Linked DNA regions of Homo sapiens: regions 1, 2, 4, 5, 6 and 7 are each linked to region 3. The links are contacts of gene promoters, found by promoter capture Hi-C in blood cells and fetal thymus (Javierre and others, 2016). All regions are on one chromosome and are shown on one strand. The core of a region is centred on a gene start or on the middle of the fragment in contact, and the rest is flanking DNA. Distances in the headings are between cores, read along the strand shown. Region 1 overlaps TMEM131 (transmembrane protein 131). Region 2 overlaps TMEM131 (transmembrane protein 131). Region 3 holds the start of VWA3B (von Willebrand factor A domain containing 3B). Region 4 overlaps CNGA3 (cyclic nucleotide gated channel subunit alpha 3). Region 5 overlaps TMEM131 (transmembrane protein 131). Region 6 overlaps CNGA3 (cyclic nucleotide gated channel subunit alpha 3). Region 7 has its middle 3.0 kb from the start of CNGA3.

Region 1 (3,303 bases), core at 54-2,553, 310 kb before region 3:
GCCTGCAAAATCACCTGGGCGGGCAGGCAGGTGCAAGCTGCAGAAGACACACAAGCCACATTTTAACCCAGTCTGTACGGGTCATAATTTCTAATACATCTTTTCGATAATGGTGACTTAATACAACTTAATTAAAACTCCAATGTTTTAGGCGTTATCCCAGAGAATGCCACCATTAATGGGAGACTCGAACCTCAGTGTTTAAAACGGGTTGGCAAACTATGGCCCATGGGCCAAATCTGGCCTGCAGTCTGTTTTTTATGGCTTGTGAGCTAAGAATGATTTTTACATTTTTGAAGTGGTCGAAAAAAAGACACAAATAAGAAGAGGCAACAGAGATAGTCTGTGGCCCATAAAGCCTCAAACATTTACTACCTGGCCCTTTACAGAAAAAGTCTGCTGAGCCTGAGCTAGAAAAAGAGTAAGTAAATCGCTTAGTGATTTCCAGGAATGTCATTTCATCATTTATTGCACACTGATTACAAGAAGTGTTAGATCTGAAACCATAACTTGGATAGTAAGTCTCAAAAATTGAAGGGGCATCTCGTTTCAAGCATAGGACTGACTAGTTTGTTTAATTATAATCGTGCCACTGTGCCCCAGCTTGGACAACAGAGCAAGACCCTGCCTCAAAAAACCAAACCAAGCCAAACCAAGCCAAACCAAACCAAACCAAACCAACAAAAAACAGGCCCCTGACCTACATCGAAGAGCCAGAGCTTCTCCCCATCATGGTAGACAGGAAGGGGAGTGTCCTGCTTTGCTCCATGAGCTCTGGGATTTCTTACATTCTGAGAGTTCAACAGCCCAGGCTGAGAATACTTCAAAATTTCCCATACAGTCAAGATCAGTTCCCCATATAATAAACTTCTCACCTGCAATTATACAATTTTATCATGCTTAGGTTCATTGGGTGAGGGGCAGTAAATCTGTATAAATAATCTATATTTACAATAACCTGAAACTTCCATAATAAATATGAAATGGCTGGAAATGAATTTTCAAAAACTAAACTCAAAAAGTGAAGCTATGAGTAGACAAAAAATACCTAACATAACAATAGTTAAGTTGAAAACTTCAGTAACAAAAGATTAATTCGGCTCAGGCCTGTAATCCCAGCACTTTGGGAGGCCGAGGAGGGCGGATCACTTGAGGTCAGGAGTTTGAGACCAGCCTGGCCAATATGATGAAACCTCATCTCTACTAAAAATATAAAAATTAGCTGGGCATGGTGGCATGTGCCTGTAATCCCAGTTACTTGGGAGGCTGAGGCAGGAGAATCGCTTGAACTCAGGAGGTGGAGGTTGCAGTGGGCTGAGATCGTGCCACTGCACTCCAGCCTGGGTGACAGAGCAAGACTTCATCTCAAAAAAAAAAAAAAATTATTGCATGGAAGAGTAATTTACCCTTTTTATCTTAAAATCATCACCTTATTAACTCAATATGCAGTCCTTCGACTTCTGTCCCTAGCACCTTAACAAAAGTGATTTTGGAAAGGCTGACAAGAATCTCTAACCTGTTGAAGCCCATGATGCCTATCATTCCTCATTCTACATGACCTTCCCGTTCCACTGGACACTGTAGAATGTAGCTCCTGCCAGGCCCCACCATGAACCCCTTCTTCTGACAACTTCTTTGCTGACTCTATCTTTGCTGGTATTCCCTAGAGATCTGCCCTTGGAGCTTTTTCTCTTTTTCCTTTACATTCTCCCTAGGGCTCAATTTCATTAACATCAACAATCCAAGTCCCAAATGTCCAAAACTGAGTTAACTATCCCAAAAACATCGTGTGGATTCTCAAGTTTGTGATTATGGTTCTTAACCAGACACACTTCAGAATAACACATGGAATGTTAAAAAGAAAATACTGCAGTCTGGGCCCGACCCCTCAGGGTCTAGGCCCCACCCCTCAGAGAGATTCTGACTCAACAGTTCTGGATAGAACCTAGGGATTCTACTGTGCACCCAGGCTGAGAGCCACTGGTCCATGGTATCAACATCAATCCAACCACCCAGGCTAGGAGCTACTTCAGGGCCATGTATGATTTCTTCTGCTGTTTGGATACCCAAAAGTTCAAATGTTAGTGGGAGGGGAGACAATGTGCCTTCCCTAACCTGACTGATAATACTGGATGCCTTCCCTAACCTGACTGATAAGACTGGATGGCCGACGTCTAGCTGCAGGCAGTCTCTGTCCCCACAGGGAGTGGCCTCTGCCTCCCGCTTGCCCCTGGGTGGGCTGAAGCAGTAAGCTGACTCTCAGGGCAAGCGTGTTCCTAAGGGTCTTGTCTCTTCCTTAGGGCTGGGTTCCAGTAGAAAAACTGGCCTTCAGAGAAAGGAGAGACTCTTCCAAATCTTTTGTTAGGTCAGTAGTTCTCAAAGTGTCCCCTGTTGCCCCAGAGTCCGCATCACCTGGGACCTTGTTAGAAATGCAAATTCTATGGCCCCATTCCAGACCTACAGAACCAGAACTCTGCGGGTAGGCACAGCAATCTATTTAACAAGACCTCCAGGTGACAGTAATAATGTATGGTCAATTTAGGAATCCCAGGGCTGGGCGCAGCAGTGGCCTGTAATCCCCAAAGGTTTGGGAAGCCAAAGCAGGAGGATCACTTGAGGCCAGGTGTTCCAGACCAGCCTGGGTAAAATAGTGAGACTTCATCTCTACAAAAAATTTTAAAATAAAACTAGCTGGGTGTGGTGGCACACACCTGTAGTTCTAGCTACTCAGAAGGCTGAGGCAGGAGGATCTCTTGAGCCCAGGAGTTTGAGGTTATAGTGAGTTATGATTGCACCACTGCACTCCATCCTGGGTTACAGAGTGAGACCTTTTCTCCAAAAAAACAAAAACAAAACAAACAAAAAACAAACAAACAAAAAAAAACAAAAACAAAAACAAAAGAATACCCTGGCTTTTAGGTATAAATTCTATCCAGGTTTATCAGAGACCTGTGTTGGGGAATTGCTGGCAAAAATGCAGGGCCTCATTTCCTATTTCTCTGTCCCCTGGGAATCTCTGGTGGATAGGTGCTGTCATTCAGAACAGAATTGGGGGAATTCTGAGTCACCTGGAAGAAATGATCTAAACAATGCAATTTTACCATCAATCAATCGGTAGGAATGGATTCTACTTCTAAAACCTCAAATGCCTTTCTCATGCACCTCCACTGCCACTCCCTGAGCCCAGGGCTTCCTCAAGTGTTGCCTGGCCACCCGTAATGGCCTTGTCTCCCTGATGAGCATCTCTTCCTGCCCCACTCTCCCACCCCACTCCGTTTTCTACACTGTCAGTAGCCCTGACTT
Region 2 (3,036 bases), core at 483-2,982, 270 kb before region 3:
GATTGACTATATGATTTAAAACAAAATTTAGCTTGCAAAATACTGAAATTAATACAAACAACCATTCTCTAATGAATTATATGAATCATACAATTAGAATCAAAGACATATCAACAAAAAAAGCTTTACTTTGAAAAAAATCATGCTTATCACTGAATTACAAGGAGCTTTGCTAAAATGAATCTTTGCCAAGTTGAGTATTAAACTACTATTGGTTAAAGTACAATAGAAAATGAACATGTCACTTCCCATTTATAAAAAGTTGTAATTCTAGAAGTGTTTATGAATTTATAAAGGAATATAAAGAATTCTGTTTCGAGTGTCAAAATACTTTAATAATAGGCCACAATCACTTACATATTACAAACAAATGTCAGAAAGGAAATGGTTCAAATGATTTAAATAATATTTAAAAAATCAGATTTTTGAATCATTAAGTCTTCATTTAAGCCCAAATCCTATCATCCCACTTACCCTTTTCTTCTAAAAAAGTAAAATATAAACAAAATATAGGAGGTTTTCTCTTTTATAGTTGGGGCTGTTCTTTCAAAAAATAATTCCATCAAGTTTATGTGAACGTGGCTAGTATTTCTGCAGGTCATTTAGCAGGAAAATATAATTTACTGATTAGTAAAAAGTAATAGAATTTATTTTAAAAAGAAACTCACCCATCTAAAACTTCTGCTTGATATGGTATTTCAAGTTTAGAATAACTCTTTTCCTTTGCTTTAACTGTTATTTTCCCAGAAAACTGAGATGGCTTTTTTGCCTTCGATGCTGAAAGGAAGCATAAAAAATAATCTCTGTTACCTTTTACTACCAAAGAGAATTAGTGAATTTATGTAAATTGACAAAATCTTAAAAAAAAAAAAAGTTGAGCTTCCAAATTGGCCAACAGAACACTTTTTATAACATTTTAAATGAAACATCACATTTTTCATACAAAAGGGGGAAAATGTTTTATATTTCCTGTAATAAGATAAGCAGATAAGGAATTAGCTGGTGAGCATGGTTCAGGAGGTAAAACACTGTACCTAAGCTGCTTTGCTGTAGCCACAGGCTTTGGCTTTACTTACAGCAGAATTTCTCATCCTTGGCACTGTTAACATTTTAGGCCAGATTAATTCTTCGTTGCGGAGGCTGTTGTGTGTACTGTAGGATGTTTAGCAGCATCCCGGACCTCTACTTGCTAGACGGCAGTAGCATCCCTGCAGCTGTGACTACCAAAATGCCTCTCTGCATTGCCAGATATCCCCTTGGAGGCAAAATTACCCCCCACTTAGCCCTGCTGATTTACACTTGAACTGAGAAAGAAATAACATTTCTTGTATGGCCAAAGTCTTGCTCTATCACCAATAAAGTAGCATGGTATAAGAAAAGTCAAGAATTCAGAGCTCTTCTCAAAAACCAGCCAACCCTAAAACTCATGGTATAAGAGGAGATAAATCCCCTCCTGTCATCATATTATATTGTCCTCATCTTAGATGAAGTAAAAACTTCAGATTTCATAGCAGTTTTGAATAATCCTGGCTGGGTGCAGTGCCTCACATCGGTAATCCCAGCACTTTGCCAGGCTGAGGCAGCCAGATCACCTGAGGTCAGGAGTTCGAGACAAACCTGGCCAACATGGTGAAACCCTGTCTCTACTAAAAACACAAAAACTAGCCAGGTGTGGTGGCACGTGCCTGTAATCTCAGCTAGTTGGCAGGCTGAGGCAGGAGAATCGCTTGAGCCTGGGAGGTGGAGGCTGCAGTGAGCCGAGATTGCGCCATTGCACTCCAGCCTGGGCAACAAAGCGAGACTCTGACCCAAAAAAACAAAAATTAAAAAATAAATAAATAAATAAGGAATTACAGAAATTGATTCAGTTGGGTCCAATCTAGGTACCCATTAGATGGTTCTTTTCAAAGCAAATAAAGAAGCTGTTTATGTTTATCCTCTTAGAGTACTTTAGGAACACTTCCATTTATGTGAAGAATTCATATGTGAGTTCCGCAAATGTGTGTCATCCAACCTCATGACAAAAAAGAACAAGGAAATGGTATGACATCTAGTGTTTGACTATGGCAGACACAGACTTTCCATTTTAAAAATTCCCATTCAGCCTCTTATTTCTCTGCTTGCTAGTTAGCCATCTCTGGATGCTTTCAATTTTTCACTATTTGTTCTGACGTAAGACTGATTACAAGGGCCACATTTAAGCATTTCATGACATTGTATCATACATAGCAAATAAAGTGGTCAAAAAGCTCAAGAAAATTCTGTTGAAAATCATGAAGAATAACTTTTGATGAGAAAGATGCTTGATAAATGAACACTGCAGAGTTAATACATATATAAGGTGCATTCTAACAATATTAAAAGTTAAATAACACACACTTCCTGACTGATTTTCACAGCAATCTCAGAGGTATTTTGTGTGGGGATCCAGCATGGCAGTGGGAGAGGTGAATGGTGGGGGGATTTTCACATGATATTAAAAACCTACTTTTAAGAAATGTAGCATTTGCTCTTAAAGATGCTTTCCCTTTGCTGTTGTTATTTAATTTTACATATTTCTTTAAGAAACAATTATCTTAGAGCCTACGATCTCAGAAGAACCAACACTAATGACATCGCATTTATCTCAAGAAGGGAAAGATTAAGTGGGTGGTCAATACAGGAGCTAGAGAAGAGTAGCTCTTCACCCTTGCAGAGCAGCTCTTCACCCTTGCAGACCATGTGGAGAATTTTCCGGCACATCTGTGAAGGGTGGGTCCTAAATGCTCTTATCCTGGCTGGGTGCAGTGCCTCACGTCGGTAATCCCAGCACTTTGCCAGGCTGAGGCAGCCAGATCACCTGAGGTCAGGAGTTTGAGACCAGCCTGGCCAACATGGTGAAACCCTGTCTCTACTAAAAATACAAAAATTAGCCGCCTCCTCCTCTGTAAGGGAAGACAATGTACCTCGTGATACTGACACTGGTAGGCATGAATGTGGTCTCTCAGCAGCATAGAGAACACTTTACCACAAATGTAGAAATTACTGTGGCATTAA
Region 3 (3,224 bases), core at 383-2,882:
AAAAATGAGGCAAACCATTCTGTAACTAGCTAAACTGAAGTCCATACCAACTATTTAATGCTTCAAAATAACCTTAAACTTCTACTCACTTATCATTCTACAATTTAAGTAAGTAATGTTTCACATTTTCAACAGAATGTATGCTTATAGACACATAAACACGAAAGATAGGGACAGATCATCTTGGTGACTTGCACGTATGTGGCAAGTGTCCTAGGGAAAGGAGCAGGCATGGGGTGAAGGTGGGAACAAGAGTGCCTGGCGTGACCATGTGAGGCAGGGCATTTGGCTATGTGTTGCTGTGTGCTCTGTCTCACCCCCGTGACCCAAGAATATTAGTGTGGCAGGGTGTGGACAGCAAGGATTAATGGGTCATTGGCAAACATGGGCGAGGCTGGTGTTTTACTCCCTTCTGAACAGTCTTCAGTACTATCAAGCTTTTGCTTGTTTTTTGGTGGTGTGGATGGCAGGTTTCATTTGCAGGGCCAAATATATATAAACTAATAACTGCCAGGAATGATTTGTGATATGGAATGAAATCTTTCAGTACTTTTTAAATGATAGAGGCATTAAAAGAATGCAGGAGAAATAAATTCCTGTGGATGAAGCAGACTTTTTTTGGGGGGACAGAATTACTCAGTTCTAACATTAACTATGTTTTATTAGTTCTTTGAAAAACCTGCAAATGATCTGGTCAGTTCTATAATTTTAAAATCTAAAATCGTTTACTATCCCAATACCCTAAAAACAATACTTACTGTGGGGTCTTTTATTAAGACTTTAAAGATACTTTTCATAAGCACAATTTTATTTCCTGGTGACTGGAAAAATAGGAAAATATTTAGAGCCTTTTGCTTAATTGATAAGGTAACACTGAAACAAAGGTTAAAAACAAAGCTGAATGGAGAAAATAATGCCTATAGAAATATTCATGTCAAACAGGTAAGAATATTCTTGGCAACTGCAGCCCCTGCCTCCACAATTGCAAAATTGCAGCTCCCTGTCCCTTCTGTCTGTCTCAGCTCCGCCCACGTCCAGTGGCTGAGCTACAACGAACTGCCCCACCTCTTTTAAAGCGTCTTTCTCTGAACTGTGCAAGGAAGAGAGCATCGCCTGACAGTGGTGAGGTGAAAATTAAAACTACACAGGGGTCAATGCTCTGCTGAAAAGTATGAAAAGAAGTTCGTTTGTAGCGTTTCCCGCAGTCTCCTCGCCTCTCCTCGGCCTCTGGCGCCTTCCTCCCCTGTCTGCTCGCACCCTATATTTCTACCCCAGCTCATCAGTGTATTTGTTTGTTAATTCATTCATTCTTTCATTCATATTCTCCGCTGTTGTTAATTTTCCCATTGACAGTAGGCGCAAGGGGCAACGCCACTCGCCCTGTCCCTCTAGCGTGGCCTCTGTTTGGGGGTCTGGGGTGGAGGTCGTCCCGGCCCGGGTGGTTCCGGACGCCGGCTTTCCGCACCTGGCTCGGTGACGGCCTCGGCGCCCCGCCCTCTTGGCCACGGTCCGCAGCCATCGCCCCAGTGAGGGCGCGGTCTGTGGGCGGGGCCGGCTCCAGGAGCCGCGCTGTGATTGGCCGTGTCCAGGCAACCGCGGAGACGCCGTCGTCAACAGACCGCGCTCGGAACCAGAGGCGCGGGTCACAGAGACCTAGAACAGCTGGAATCCTTCGCCCCCGGCGCGCAGCCTTCGCCCGCCGGAATCGCTGCCTTATCCACCAGCGGGATGCTTACCTCGCCCGCCCTCTCGGGTCAGGCGGGCCCGGGAGGATGGGAGGGTGGCTGCTGAGCGGGAGCCGCCACGTCTTCCACCCGACATATTGCCTAGTAAGTGTGGGAGCGATGCCTGCCGCACGAGAGCCGCCGAGGTGCCGAGCCTTCCAACAAGCGGCCTAGGGAGGTCTTGGAAAAATGCCATTTCTGAGGTGGACTACACGCCCACTTTACAGATGCGGAAACAGTACCAGGAAAGCTCGGTGACTTGCCCTGGCCCACTTAATCGTCCGCTACCCAGGGCAAGCCGAGGGTCAAGGTACCGACCCCTCCTACTCTAGAGCTCTTTCCATCACACCTCACCCGAGCCCACGCCCAGCCGCTCTGGTGGAAAAGCGGTTTTCCTAGTTTCTGTCTATGCCATAGGCCAGCAGTTCAAGGTGATGAAGTCCACCTGGGCTTTGGAGGGAACATGGGAACCAGAAGAAACACATTTCCTGAACATAAGGATAAATATGTATAGTCTAAAAGCCAAAGCAACACTTACATGGTTTCACAATCATATCAGTTTCTTTCACCCTCCTTATATGGAAATAAGACTTAATAAGTAGATTTAGTTTCCATTTGGTAGAGCTTTTCCTTTCATTTTCTTGGAAGCTCTGTTTCTTCTCAGCAATGACCTTCCTCCTAAAGCACTCCAATTATTCTCAGATATTGCCTTCTTGACTATTTTCTCAACGGTGGGACAGTCCGTTTCAATATCCTTGTCTCTGTCCACATTATTTGAGCCAATGATCACAGCCAAGCCTTGTCCCTTAAGGGCAGAAAAAATGGGAGGAGGTTTAAGGGTTTCTGGGGAAGAGTTGCATCAGGATCCATCATGAAGCTTCGTCCCAGTTTCCTTTCTTCCTGGAAAAATCATCGTTCACAAATTCACCTAAATCACAAGATATATATCCACCTAGCCCAGACTTCTTTTTCAGAAACTAACAGGGGTATAGGAAGTTTGGGGTGTTGATAATAAAGTAGCTAGAAGCTTATTGAATGTCTAAACTGGATTAATGGACTCTCAACCCTGCACTGTCCCTGAACCTCCGAGCACATAGGACCTTTTCTCTGAGGGCATGCTGACTTCACAAGACTGTCGCCCAGGGCAGCCCAGGAGCATCTGCTTCCAGTAGACGGGGCCCTTGTACAGTTGCCAGCTTAACCTTTCTATTTTCCCCAAAGCTTTGCCTGCCCACATTTTCAGCTCAGACTTTCACTTCCTTGTTTTTCCTTTTACACTTCCTCCTTCTTCTAAGGAAATACTTTCCTATCCAAACTCTATGTATGGTTCTTGGGATGGCCTCTAAAACTTAGGGCAATGCTCAACTCCGGTATGTTGTTGTTTCCGACTTCTGGGTTACTTGGTTCCCCAATTTATAATAACCTCAGCTGAGGAAACTCTGAATAATAGTAAATAAATAAATAAATAGCATAGTTTTATCAGAAAATAATATATCCCCC
Region 4 (3,265 bases), core at 130-2,629, 300 kb after region 3:
ATTTATCTCTCAACCATGCCTTCCTTCAGCGTGTGGAAGAGAGAAATCAGAGGGGCCTGAAGGGGACTCGAGGGGTTGTCCCTTCCGCAACCTTTGTTTCTTCAACTATTCAATGGGGCATTACTGCCTGCCTTGAAGAAATTTACATGTATTCATTAGATAACTTTATAAGAGTTCCTAGCTCTTAAAAGACACCCAATAAAGAAGAGGCAGCAGTGTGAAGTCTTATGTTGAAGAAAAACCTGCAGTCACAGGACCATCCTGCGGACGCTGCCTGAACCGTCTCGCAGCCCAGCAAAGTCCGAAGGCGTGTCTGAACTCGGCCACATTTGCGAACCTGCGACCACACGTATTTGCCACTACATGCGTCACAGACCCGCCTCTTCGAATGTTGCTTCCCTTCTGCTCACTGGCTTTCTCATTAAGGCCCAGGTTTTCACTTGATCCAGAGAGAGGTTTCAAGAACAGCGGACAGGCCACACCCTTCCATTCAGAACGGAGAGCCTGGCGTGGGATTTCCAAAACTCCGAGTAACTTTCCCAACTTCAATGTGTGGATTTGGGTCTATGTCGTACTACCTCAAAACGTCTCCAGTCTCTGGCTGTTTGTGACTTCCCAGGAGCTCATGAAAATAGATCAGAAATTGTAGAACATTAGACTGAGCCACTAATTTCTCAATGTATACTCAATGGGGTGGTTTACCTCACGCTTCAGGAATAATAATAACAAATCAATAACCCCATTTCATCCCAATGCGCTGGAAGCACCCCTTGCCACGCCCTCTCTTCAGGACGTCTCCACGACGCCACACGCCACGCCCTCTCTCCGGGACGCAGCAGCCTGCCCCTTCCATTTGGTAATGTCCTTGATATATGAAGTCTGCTAAATGTGCCCCGGCATCATCCAGCAGCAAGGCAGAAAAGAACGAAGAGAAAAAAGAAGAGAGAAAAGCTACCTAAAACACGAGGAGGAAGTACTGAAGGAAGCTGCCTCTAAAGACGGGGTGCCATGGTCCCAGCAGGCCTGACCCCTCCCTGCAGGGCTCCAGGGCTGGGTATCTTGGAGCAACGCTATCAGGGGGCCTTAGCTTCGGCCCTGGAGGGGAGAGGGTGCTTGGAGCTGAGGAAAAGTCGGTCCCAGCAGGCTGCAGACCATGCCTCCTGAGACCATGTGAAGCCCCCATCTTGCAGAAAGAATCCTCTCCAAGCTCCGGGAACTCAAGGGGGGCTTATAAGTAAAGAGAGTTGCTTGTCTGCAGCCTCCGGTGGGCAGCCGGGGGCTGCCCCTGTGAGCCTGCTCATGTGCCCCCCACCCGAAGCATTTCGTTTGCCCTCACAAGTGGGCCGGCCACACGTAGGCTGAGGGCTTCTCTGGGGCACTGGAAGATACAATGTTCACAAACTTTCACCCAAATTCAGTGGTGATGAGAGCTGTAGGGAACGTCCCAAAGCCCGGTCAGTGAGTGACCTTGCACTTGCAGCATCCAGGTGAAGGCAGGAAGTCACTGGGGTCTCCGATGGAGCACAGGAGCACTCTGCAGGCCTGGGCCAGCGTGGGTCGCATGGGATGGCAGAGGGGACACATGGACCCAACAAAAAGGCAGTCTCCAGTACAGCCTGTAAACTTGAATCTGCGGGAAATTCTAAGAATAAAAGTTAAGCACTCTAAGCTATGTATTTCATTCCGTGCGGGCCCACGTGACAGGTTATTCCCAGGCTTTTGATGGAGAGGTGTGATGCAAGCCCTTGGAAATGAGCCTTTACATCGTCCGCACAAACACAGTGAGGGAGGTGGAGAGGGTTCTGGAGGGAATACTGTGGGGCTCCCCAACTCTGTCCAGAGAGGGGCTGCCTCAGAACTATCCAGGCAATGCTTAAATGCATATTTCCAGGCCCAGCCCTGGAAGAGGTGAGTGGGCCCTGGGAATCAGAATTTTCTGGAAGTTCCCCAGACTTTAGCAGACCTCTGTGACATTGCCATGCTGCGTTTTCATTCTCAGCATCCTGAAGGGTGTGGATGTTGTCGTGGGCACATGGGAATGTCATCACCATTACCTTATAGTCGACCGTGACCTCCTGGGACTGAGCTGGGAGAGAAGGACCTCTGGAGTCTACCCTACCTCCTGGCCTGCCTTCCCCTACAGGGACTCCCCATGTGACTCCCTTGAGACTAAGAGGACCCTGTTGTGGACAGCCACATCTTGGGCTTCAGCCTGAAATTGCCCTAGGCTCTCTAAAACCCTCCAAAGCTACAGTCTTGGAGCACAGTGCGCTGTTTGTGTATGTGTGGGTTTCCAGGAAGAAGACGAAAAAGAAGGATGCGATCGTGGTGGACCCGTCCAGCAACCTGTACTACCGCTGGCTGACCGCCATCGCCCTGCCTGTCTTCTATAACTGGTATCTGCTTATTTGCAGGTAAGCGACAGGGGTGGAAGGTGCAGCGGAAAGGGGGAAACCAGGGCACCAGGCCCAGGAGCCAGAGCTCCACCTCTCCCTCGGGAGGCCTGAGGCCTGGACCCCTCACGGCCACCACTTAGTTATTGTGCCTCGGTTTCTCCTTTTAAAAATAGAAGGTTCCCCAAGAGGACCATCAGAGTGCTCTGAAGCATGGGTGGGGAATTGAGCTTCAGGTGGACAGCCAGGGTTTCGGCACTGTGGGGCCCCCTCAAGTGAGTTGTACGAGGAGGATGCAGGGGCGGTTGCTTCTCTTTGGAGGGATAAGTGGGTGGTTCTGAACATGCAGCAGGGTAGGGAGGCAGGGGCAAGCTGCTACTATTTTTTTCTTTTTTTTTTTGAGACAGAGTCTCACTCTGTCACCCAGGCTGGAGTTCAGTGGCGCGATCTCAGCTAACTGCAACCTCCACCTCCCGGGTTAAAGCGATTCTCCTGCCTCAGCCACCCGAGTAGCTGTGACTACATATATGAGCCACCACGCCTGGCTTTTATATATATATATGTATTTTTTTTTTAGTAGAGACAGTGTTTCACCATATTGGCTAGGCTGGTCTTGAACTCCTCACCTCAAATGATCTGCCCACCTTGGCCTCCCAAAGTGCTGGGATTCCAGGTGTGAGCCACTGCTCCCGGCCTCTACTACTCTTCTAATAAGCAGAAGAGGGATTGAGGGCCTCTCCTAGGAAACCTGTTTGTGAATGCAGGGACGAGATACTGCTCCTCTTAGGGGAAGCCAGGGGCCTGGGCTTTTCTGAGCAGGCCTCCAGGGTGGGGCCACCAGAGGGAACGTTCCTGAGCACGCTGTCCACCAA
Region 5 (3,055 bases), core at 428-2,927, 290 kb before region 3:
TGAGGTAATCTACTTTGATAAATCATTTTAGATGGCAAAAGTTGACTATACTTCACATTTCATACTGAGAGTAAATCAGCTAAGGTATGCAATGAGTGCAAACACTTTAAATCTTTTAAGATCCAAATCAAACAACTCTAAACACAACATGGAATTTCCTTAAGCTCTTAAGCATTCATAACTAATATACACAGGTGCACATACAGAAATAATGTTGTTTTTGAAATTATTTACTGTTGAAAGCAAATGCTGAAATTAGTGTCCTTGAAACTGTTAGGAAGACTTACTATCTGTACAATCTTTTAACAATGCTTCCGTGATTTTAAAGCGTAAGGAGCTTCCTGGACCTGGAAGCTTGCCTGCCACCCTCAAGTTCTCAGTTGTTCCTTGTCCTTGGACCATCACAGCATCCATCACAGTCAGGTTATTTCTATGCAAGAATGAGAATTACAGATTTTTCTCTCATTAAATCTGCACAATCTTTTGATTTGCAATTTCTACTGTTATTTTACAGAGCACCACATAGAAATTAAATTTAATGGTGAGAATTTATACTTTAAGAATTCAAAAATACACAGAGAAGAGCAAGTTTTTATTTTTAAGAGACACACATTAAGACACCATTCATGTTTTTGAACTATGCATTTGATAACAAAGGTATGTTTCATCAGGCATGGAGTGTGTGCATGTTTTGGACAAAGTGAATTCAAACTATTTCATAAGTTAGACATGCAAATTCATCTTAAAACAAGTGAGGACTTCTAAGTAAGTAGTAAAAATGAACCCACACCTATATCACAGAACCTACCTGACTATGATAAGTGAAGAAACAGTTCTGTTGTGAACTGGAGTAAACTTTACTTTGACAGATTTCTTTTCTCCAGGTTTTAAAATTAGGTTTAAAATTAAATGTCGAGAGAGGCCCTCCATAAATCCTGTTGAACTCTGCAGTGGATGAGCCTTGAATCATTGGGTAAACAGAGAGGAGTCATGAATATATTCTCTGGAAGAATGTTTCTTCGCTTACACCCCATCTAGAGCCCAGTATAGTTTCTCAAACTGATTAAATGCATAAACAATTTTATCTGTCATGTTTAGATATGGGTTAGCTGGAAAGCAGCACAGAGTAACCAACGATGAGATTCATATTCTACATTAAGTCCAAAAAGGGGCTTTCTTCCCCAGGTCACCAAATAAAGTCCTCAATGTTTGCACAAGGCATTTGTTTTTGGATACATATCTTTTTTGTTTTTAACCTAAAAATTTGAAATATTCCACACACAGAAAAGGACACAAACCTAAGATGATCAGCTAGACACATTAGCACAAAGCAAACACTTGTGGAACCAATGCCAGCACCCCAGGCCTCCTGATGCTTCCCGCCACTGCTCCCCTCTGAAGGGGACCAGGGCCAACACCTCAGGCCTCCTGCCACTGCCACGCCACTCCTCCCCTCTGAAGGGGACCAGCTGAAGGGTCTTCAGGCTGCACCGAATGTTTAAATGTAAAAAGATTTCCAATTCCTATACATTTCTCCTTGAATCTTATTTTGAAGGTTACACACGCTTACTGTTTCATAAACACCCAATGATTTAAAGTTTAAAGCATAGCTTAGTTTAATATTCAAAATATGACTTTTTGACAGCCAGTTATAGTTAAGGTTGAAAAACATTTGCTTTTTTATTACAAAAACAGTCACAGGTCACATATAAGGATATACCGTTCTGGTTTTTAAGCAACATTAAGTGTAAACTTTTTTGAGGGAAGGGTTGTCAACGCTTGGCTATAAACATCCACCAGTTCTTCATGGCTTCTGCTATCATGGAAGGAGGGTGCATTTTGTATTGTTTTCTACTCCCCCTGGCATAGATCGGTGTGTGTTTCACACATAGAGATCTAGCTACTTGCTTCAGCATGATTCCACAAACATTAACTCAGAGTCAACAGACTTTATGAAGCACATTACTTTTAATTCTTGCTTCTGAGGTAAATACGGTTGTCTCTGTACATGCCAGAGATTGGTTCCAGGATTCCTGGCATAACCAAATCTGCGATTTTTCAAGTAGCAGTTGGCCACTGTGGAATGTGCCTACAAAAAGTAGGGCTCTCCATATATGCAGTTTTGCATCCTGAAAACTGTATTTTCCATCTGCACTTGATTGAAAAAAATGTATGCGTGCGTCAGCACAGTCGAAGCCTGTGTTGTTCAAGTGTTAACTGCTATTTTTTTCCTTTCTGTCAAAGTCCACTAAGACAGAAGAATATTCCAACTGCTTCAAGATGGTTGGTGAGTAATTTCCCTTTTAAATCAACTACTCTGATTAACTGATGGACACAATGATGTACTATACATATATTCCCAGCAAGCACTAGCTAATTTAAACTCTCATGGTTTGGGGAAAACTTTAAGATGTTGTGATGCCTCCCGTATACCATTCAGGACCTTAATAATTTTATAGTGGTGGTTCTCCAAGAGTGACCCTTGGACCCCTGGGGATCTCAGGGATCCTGTCAGAGTATCCACCACGATGTCAAAACTATTTTCATAATAATACCGATAGACGTTATTTGTCTTTTTCACTATGTTGGCATCTGCACTGATGGTCAGCAAAAGCCATGGAGGGTAAAACTGCTGACCCCTTAGCATGCATCAAAGCAGTGGTATCAAACTTTCCTAGCAGCCATTGTGTTTTTCAGTGTCATTCATTTGTATTTAAAAAAAAAAAAAGTCCTCGATTATGCCATAAAAACTTCAACCCTGGAGCATGTCTTTAATATTCTGTGGGATACAATGGGAAGTATGTAAAAAGTATTTCTACAGCTACCATGTTGTTTTGAAAAGCTGTTTGAGATGGAAGCTGAACTAGCTGCTTTTCTCATGGAACACCGTTTATGTCTGAAAGAATGACAGACAGTCCATGGTTATTCAGACTTGGGCATCTGGCAGGTATTTTCACAGAAATAAGTGAGCCTACTGAAGTATTTGTTTCTAATAAAATTCAAGCTTTTGAGCAAAATTTAGGATTTTGGATAATTTGTATTCACCATTGTGAGC
Region 6 (3,319 bases), core at 108-2,607, 270 kb after region 3:
ACCAACTTGCAACCTCTAATGAATTGATGGATCTAGCAAATGAACATCAACAGCTGCTAATGTCCCCCAGAGAAATATAAGATCTTATGTACCTTCTGATGGAAGAACAAAGAATCCCCTATGAAATTGTCATGCAAAAAAAAATTAATAAATTGACCAAGCTTCTGGGTACAGCTACCAGTAGTAGATAACATTTTAAAGTTGGAATTAGCAAAAATTCATACTGTAGTAAACTCCATTGGACAAATAATGAAATTTCTACACAAAGAGAAAAACTTTAGAGGTAAAAATACCAAGAAGATATAACAACCAATCAACAAGATTGGTTCCTTATTTGGTTCCTCCTGATTTTTTAATGTATTTTTTCAAAGACAACCATTTATGACACTTATGAGACAATAGGGAAAAAAGATCTTCTGAGTTATCTTAAACTTACATTTCCCTTTAGTGATGTACATTTTGCCCTGTCCTACTCCAACCATTGTTTTCCTGGATAAAGAACATAGAATTAAAAGGGAAACTTGGCTCACTCCTAAACCTTGAGGGACTTGGGTCAAGAGTACAAATGACCCACTTACTGTAGCCCAAATATCTAAAAGTTAAAGATTCTCTTAGCAGTGATACCCACTCCCCTCCAAAACAGAGCCTTGAACAGGGAATGCAGGCAGGCAGTTTATTTGGGGAGTGATTCCAAGGAACAGGAGTAGGGGTCTTGGAGAGGGCAAAAGGGAAAGAGGACAAGCCAACCCAGATGTCCATTATCAAACTGATCGCCACTCTGGGCAACCAGGGGTTCTCCAAGGAGCCAGGTAGAAAGTGTCTCAGAGCCACCTTCCTGAGGGATGGAAGAGTATATTCCCTCAGGCTCCTGCTTCTATTGGTCCAGGGTTGCCCCAAGGATGTTACCCCTTCAGCTTTTGCACATGTATCAGAACGGTGATGTGGTCTCAGCAAGTGTTTCCTGGGGGAAGTAAGGAAGCCCCCAAGGCAGAAGGCCCTAGAATCTGCAGTGTCACTGAGGCAAAGTACATGGGTTACCCAGCATGCAGCTGGTTGCCATAGCAATGGCTGGACTGAAAGGTGGGCAGGAAGGATGCGAGGTAGAGGACCAGAAATGACCATTACATGGACCAAGATAGCACACTGTTAAATCAAATGTGCCCACCCTCCTAAACTGGCAAATACACTGCATTACCACCTGGAGGCCAGGTTCAAACCGAGAGTACTCAGGCCCCTTGGAGTTGAGCCTGAGAGCAGGAAGTCATGAGGAGAGCTGATCTCTGGTTCCCTGCCCACAACCTGCCCCCTTCTGTCCCCAGCCCTAGGTCCACACCACGTCAAAGGGGCCTTGCACAGGAGGCCCTGCACACCTGTCTGTGGACGCCCTGGCCACATCTCCAGGCTCTGTCTCCCCCACCCCCCACAAACAGCTGCTCCTTGGCCATCCTTGGGCCTAGGGGAGTGCAAGCTGGTGCACTCAGGGAGATGGACCAGGGAAGAGTCCCAGGCAGGCTCTAGAACCAGTTGAAAGCCTCTTGGACAGAGAATCTGGGGGTTTGGGGCATTCAGACCATAGCTGGAGCAGGGGCAGGGTTCCCGGTGGGCATGGCCCCTTGATTCTATGGGCTTCTCGACCCTTTGGGAGGGATGTGGCTGGAGGAGGGCCAGCATGGGGTCCTTTAAAGCAGAGACCCCTCCTGCCCAGGCCTAAAGGCAATACCAGTTCCCTCAATGACTTTGCACTCTCAGGTTTTGGAGTCAGACAGATTTTTAGTCAATCCTGGCTCCGGCCTTCAGCAGCAACCTTAAGGAAATGACTCACCTGTCCAGTTTCTTCATTTGTAAGAGAGGGAGGGGGGCTGCTGTGAGGATTAAGTAAGGAAGTGTTGCACAGCACTCACCTGTGGCTGGCACCTAGTGGCCCTCAACAGGAGGCAGGTCTATGGGAGGACAGAGGTACTGCCTCCATGCAATGGCAGTGGGACCAGAGTTTGTGCCCAGGATAGAGAAAGCAGCTGAGGGGGCTGAAGGAAGGGGCACAGGCTGGAGACAATGCACTTTATTTGGTGTAATTTGCCTGGAAATGTACAAAGAAGAGTAATTCGATAGTTTTTCCACAGAGTCCCAAACTTCTTTGAGACTTGCTCTGCACCCCACTTGACTGTCAGCTCCTGGAGGACAGAGCTGCATATAGCTCTCTAATAAAGCCCCAGCTTCTAGCATATTGCCTGGCACATAGTAAGTGCTCAATTAAAAAGTGTTGAATGGACAATTTTGAATTGGATTTATTGCTTTTTTATCTAAAAACATATAAACATTCCATTTTAAAGTATTGAAAATAATGAGGCCGGGGGGAGGTGGGAGACAAGGATTTGGCCAAAGTCTGCATATACTAAGTCAAATAGGGTTGAGTCCTAATGTGGCTTCTGGACCTCACACGTTCTTTGGAAAGTTACATAACCTGTTATAAGCCTCCATTTCCTCATCTATGCAATGAAGACACTAATAGCATCCACCTCAGAGACTCTCATGTTAGAATAAACAATGATGTAAAAAGCTTAGCACATTGACTGGAATAAAATCAGATTTCAATATATTATAACTACTACTATTTGGATAACACACATGAATATGTGTGTTATTTTTATTTTTATTTTATTTTATTTTATTTTATTTATTTTATTTTATTTTTAGTTCTGGGGTACATGCGCAGGACGTGCAGGTTTGTTACATAGGTAAATGTGTGCCATGGTGGTTTGCTGCATCTATCAACCCATCTCTAGGTATTAAGGCCAGCATGCATTAGCTATTTATCCAGTTACTCTCCCTCCCTGCCACCCCTGGAGAGGCCCCAGTGTGTGTTGTTATTCCCCTCACTGTGTCCACCTGTTCTCATTGTTCAACTCCCACTTATAAGTGAGAACATGCAGTGTTTGGTTTTCTGCTTCCGAGTTAGTTTGCTGAGGATAATGGCTTCCAGCTCCATCCATGTCCCTGCAAAGGACATGATCTCATTCCTTTTTATGGCTGCATAGTATTCCATGGTGTATATGTACCACATTTTCTTTATCTAGTCTATCATTGATGGGCATTTGGGTTGATTCCATGTCTTTGCTATTGTGAATAGTGCCACAATGAACATATGCATGCCTGTATCTTTATAATAGAATAATTTATATTCTTTTGGGTATATAACCAGTAATGGGATTACTGGGTCAAATGGTATTTCTGGTTCTGGGTCTTTGAGGAATTGCCACACTGTCTTCCACATGGTTGAACTAACTTACACTCCCACCAACAGTGTAAAAGCGTTCCTGTT
Region 7 (2,988 bases), core at 406-2,905, 260 kb after region 3:
CCTTGGTTTCCCAAAGTGCTGAGATTACAGGCATGAGCCACCACGCCCAGCTAATTTTTAAAGTTATATTATGACTAATATAGTGATGTCTGTAAATTTTTTTAAATATGGCAACTAAAATCAAAATAATCCAGGTACGTTGACAGAGAGGAGCTGAGCAAGACTCACCTCTCTTCTATATGATATACTTCTATTAAGTCAGCCTTATTTCTCATTAACTTTTTGCCAATTTTTGTGGAGACACATCACCCTGAGGCTTCGCATCTTACTGAGCGAGTTCTGGTAAGCCACGTCTCCTCTTCCTGTACTTGGGGGGCTGACTTTTTGGACGCTGATACAGAACTTTACATGTGTTCCTGTTATGTCTTTTCTTGGCCTGTATATTTAGTGCATCATTGAAGGCTCTCAAGATTTTTTTGGATTTTGATTTATACTCCTTAGTCACCATATATTCTGAGTGCATGTTAGCTATACATTCTATAACTCCGTATCCATATTAAAATATGCAGGAAACTCCATATGTTCACCCAAGGCCGTGATAATGATGTCAAACTGAGCAGTACTGAGTCCCAGAGCATATCACACCTATTAGCGAGCACTTTGATGCCGTTCACATCACAATCCACAAAAACAGCCTTGCATCCAGCACACTGATTGCCAGCTTAGCAATTAGAAAAGGTGATTGTCCTTCTTTTGTGGGTGGAAAATGAAGGCTTTAGGCTTAGAGAAAAGCTCAAGTGATTTCGCTGGGCCAGGACTAGGCTCAGTTGTAACCGGGGCCAAGCTTGCCCTCAGTATTTAAAGTCTCACCTGTGCCCTTTCCCCCTGATCTTACCCACCTCCTGCTATGGCGCCCATCCCATGCCACGCTCACTGGCCTGCAGGATCCTCAAATGTGCTCCTCAATTTTTCCTACCAAAACTTTGTATTTGATTCTTTATCCACACTCTATCTCATGGAGTTATTGGCATTTTAAAAGGGATCCAAGTTTGAAAATAGAGAGATGACGTTCCAATGGTAGGACTTCAGGCATTGATGGTCAGACAGTAGAAATTTGGAGAGTGGAAAGCTGGCACTGGGGTCTTAAGGGCAGCCCCTATAGCGACTGTTTGCAAAGCTGACCTGAAAGAGACAGGGAGTCCCCAGGGGACAAGATAGATTAGATCCTATGGTCCCACAGTCCTCCTCAAGCTCTTAATGGTATTTGGTTAGAATTTCTAACTCTTCAAATCTTGTTCATTCATTTAATTTAACTTTCCTTCTATTCTTCCAACTGCCAGGTAGGTGAGAGAAATAGATGCCATCATCTTGATTGCCTGAGAAGGAAACAGGCAAAGTGGGCTTTAAAGACAGAAAATAACTGCTTTTCCCCAACTTGGGGCCTCCCCATCCTGCAATTTTGCACTGACTGACAGAATTCCTGCGGGGAAAACTGAGGCATCTTGCTTCTCATGTAAACCTTGCCTGTCTCCTCATAAATATTTTATTTCCCAAAAGCCATTCCTACAAATTGCCTTATCATTTGCCAAGGATCTAGACCATCTGCCAAAGCAAGTTCACACATCCCTCCTTGCTGATAACTGGGTTTATCTGTTTGCATTTCTGTGTATCGTCGGTTAGTCTGGCTTATCTACTTATGAGATTGTGTGTTCTTTAACACACTGGACACCATATGGCCCCCAGCAGAGACAGCAGTCCTGTTGCCTACCTATGGGCACTATTTGTGTGCCTTTCAACCCTGACTATAAAATATCAGGTCCCTAGTACATCTAAAATTTGTTTGGACTGGGAAGATTTTACAAAATTAGAATCAAAAATTTAGTTCTTCCCGCCCCTATTTTTAAAGCAATGTGTACAATATGCATACAGAATAAATAAATAACAAATTATTTACACAGTGAAACTAAATGAACTATAGCTACAAGCAACATCACCAAATCTTACTAACCTAATATTCATTGACAAAAGCAAATCCCAGGAGACTACATAGACTATCACATTGTTTCTAAATTTCAAAAACACAACTAAACATCATTGAGGAGTCCCCCGAGCCACACATGTACACACTTACGCTCAGACTCAATACATCTGGGCTTGGCTGGTATTTTCCTTTCATTTCCTGGCACCGAATTCACAGGTGGATAGAACTGGTCTCATCAGGCTCCCTGGCTCCAGACTTCCTCAGCTCCTGGGTGCTACTCTTTTCCCCACAGACCCCTCCCCACTTCCTTAGTGTCCTGGCTGAGGCTGAAGCAACTTAGCATTCACCTGGCCCCCACCCCCTTCCTCCCACTCTCACCTGCTCTGTCAGAAAGAGGAGATGGTGCTTTCTCCATAGCTCTCTTCTTCCTGTGGTCTCCCTATTCTAACAAACACCAAAAGACTTTGGGTTTCTGAGAATCGCGCTCCTTGGTCTCTTAGTGCCATGGGCCTGTTAGAGCATCCCACTAATTTATTCAGAGGTTGCTGTATCCTGCATCTTCACAAAATCTTGCTGTCCCTTCCACACTCGACCATGCCTCAGTTGAAGCTTGAGCAATAATTGGAAAGGTCCCCAGAGGCCACTCCATTGAGTGAGCATTGGGCCAAATCTGGACCCTCCATCATGGCAGCCTAGGATCTTGCAGCTCGATGACTTTTGCAGGCAAATTCACAGATACATCCCCTTCAGTCTCTTTCCATTCATTTCCAGTCTCTTCATCTGTTTCCACTTTTCAGACACCCAAAGTTCTTCAATGATAACTATTGCCACATACATCATTCCCTAGGGGCCAACTATGTGCCCATTTCTGTGCTAAACACTCTATCTCATTTCATCAGACTCAGGACACTTCTCCATTTCTTGATTAATTCTGTGAGGTCTTGTTTTCCCCTTCAAATCTTAGGAATGATGTGCATTTCAGAAACAAAGTCCAAGGGGATTTTTCAGGATGATGCCTTAAAATGATCTCATGATCACTACTATTTACTCCAAAATCAGGATTTAAG

The links. Contacts are between HindIII fragments. The CHiCAGO score rates a contact against its expected background, and 5 or more counts as called.
Region 1: a contact is called between a fragment that was not itself captured here and the fragment with the promoter of VWA3B in region 3, in 2 of 17 cell types (erythroblasts and megakaryocytes). The highest score is 6.0, in erythroblasts.
Region 2: a fragment that was not itself captured here is called in contact with the fragment with the promoter of VWA3B in region 3 in 9 of 17 cell types (total B cells, M2 macrophages, naive B cells and 6 more); the score reaches 14.2 in total B cells.
Region 4: a contact is called between a fragment that was not itself captured here and the fragment with the promoter of VWA3B in region 3, in 2 of 17 cell types (M2 macrophages and M0 macrophages). The highest score is 7.7, in M2 macrophages.
Region 5: a contact is called between a fragment that was not itself captured here and the fragment with the promoter of VWA3B in region 3, in 7 of 17 cell types (M2 macrophages, megakaryocytes, naive B cells and 4 more). The highest score is 11.5, in M2 macrophages.
Region 6: a fragment that was not itself captured here is called in contact with the fragment with the promoter of VWA3B in region 3 in 1 of 17 cell types (M2 macrophages); the score reaches 5.9 in M2 macrophages.
Region 7: a contact is called between a fragment that was not itself captured here and the fragment with the promoter of VWA3B in region 3, in 1 of 17 cell types (M2 macrophages). The highest score is 6.4, in M2 macrophages.

Annotation. Positions count from the first base shown.
Region 1 is chr2:97,777,184-97,780,486 of GRCh38, forward strand. The region is part of intron 31 of TMEM131 (transmembrane protein 131); the gene reads right to left. Among named protein-coding and RNA genes, the nearest start is that of ZAP70, 65 kb to the left of the region's middle. The HindIII fragment of the contact is 4,038 bases long and covers 1-3,303 here.
Region 2 is chr2:97,814,531-97,817,566 of GRCh38, forward strand. TMEM131 (transmembrane protein 131) reads right to left here. Exons shown (of 41, transcript NM_015348.2): 13 at 669-777. Among named protein-coding and RNA genes, the nearest start is that of ZAP70, 100 kb to the left of the region's middle. The HindIII fragment of the contact is 3,223 bases long and covers 122-3,036 here.
Region 3 is chr2:98,085,535-98,088,758 of GRCh38, forward strand. VWA3B (von Willebrand factor A domain containing 3B) reads left to right here and starts at 1,633. Exons shown (of 28, transcript NM_144992.5): 1 at 1,633-1,829. RefSeq lists enhancers at 1,361-1,861, 1,758-1,827, 1,862-2,362. The HindIII fragment of the contact is 2,164 bases long and covers 436-2,599 here.
Region 4 is chr2:98,387,361-98,390,625 of GRCh38, forward strand. It overlaps CNGA3 (cyclic nucleotide gated channel subunit alpha 3), which reads left to right. Exons shown (of 8, transcript NM_001298.3): 6 at 2,298-2,414. Among named protein-coding and RNA genes, the nearest start is that of CNGA3, 43 kb to the left of the region's middle. RefSeq lists a silencer at 738-925. The HindIII fragment of the contact is 5,884 bases long and covers 1-3,265 here.
Region 5 is chr2:97,796,557-97,799,611 of GRCh38, forward strand. It overlaps TMEM131 (transmembrane protein 131), which reads right to left. Exons shown (of 41, transcript NM_015348.2): 26 at 809-960; 27 at 288-430. Among named protein-coding and RNA genes, the nearest start is that of ZAP70, 85 kb to the left of the region's middle. The HindIII fragment of the contact is 2,650 bases long and covers 353-3,002 here.
Region 6 is chr2:98,358,349-98,361,667 of GRCh38, forward strand. All of the region lies in intron 1 of CNGA3 (cyclic nucleotide gated channel subunit alpha 3), which reads left to right. Among named protein-coding and RNA genes, the nearest start is that of CNGA3, 14 kb to the left of the region's middle. The HindIII fragment of the contact is 2,396 bases long and covers 160-2,555 here.
Region 7 is chr2:98,341,945-98,344,932 of GRCh38, forward strand. No RefSeq gene overlaps it. Among named protein-coding and RNA genes, the nearest start is that of CNGA3, 3.0 kb to the right of the region's middle. The HindIII fragment of the contact is 1,746 bases long and covers 783-2,528 here.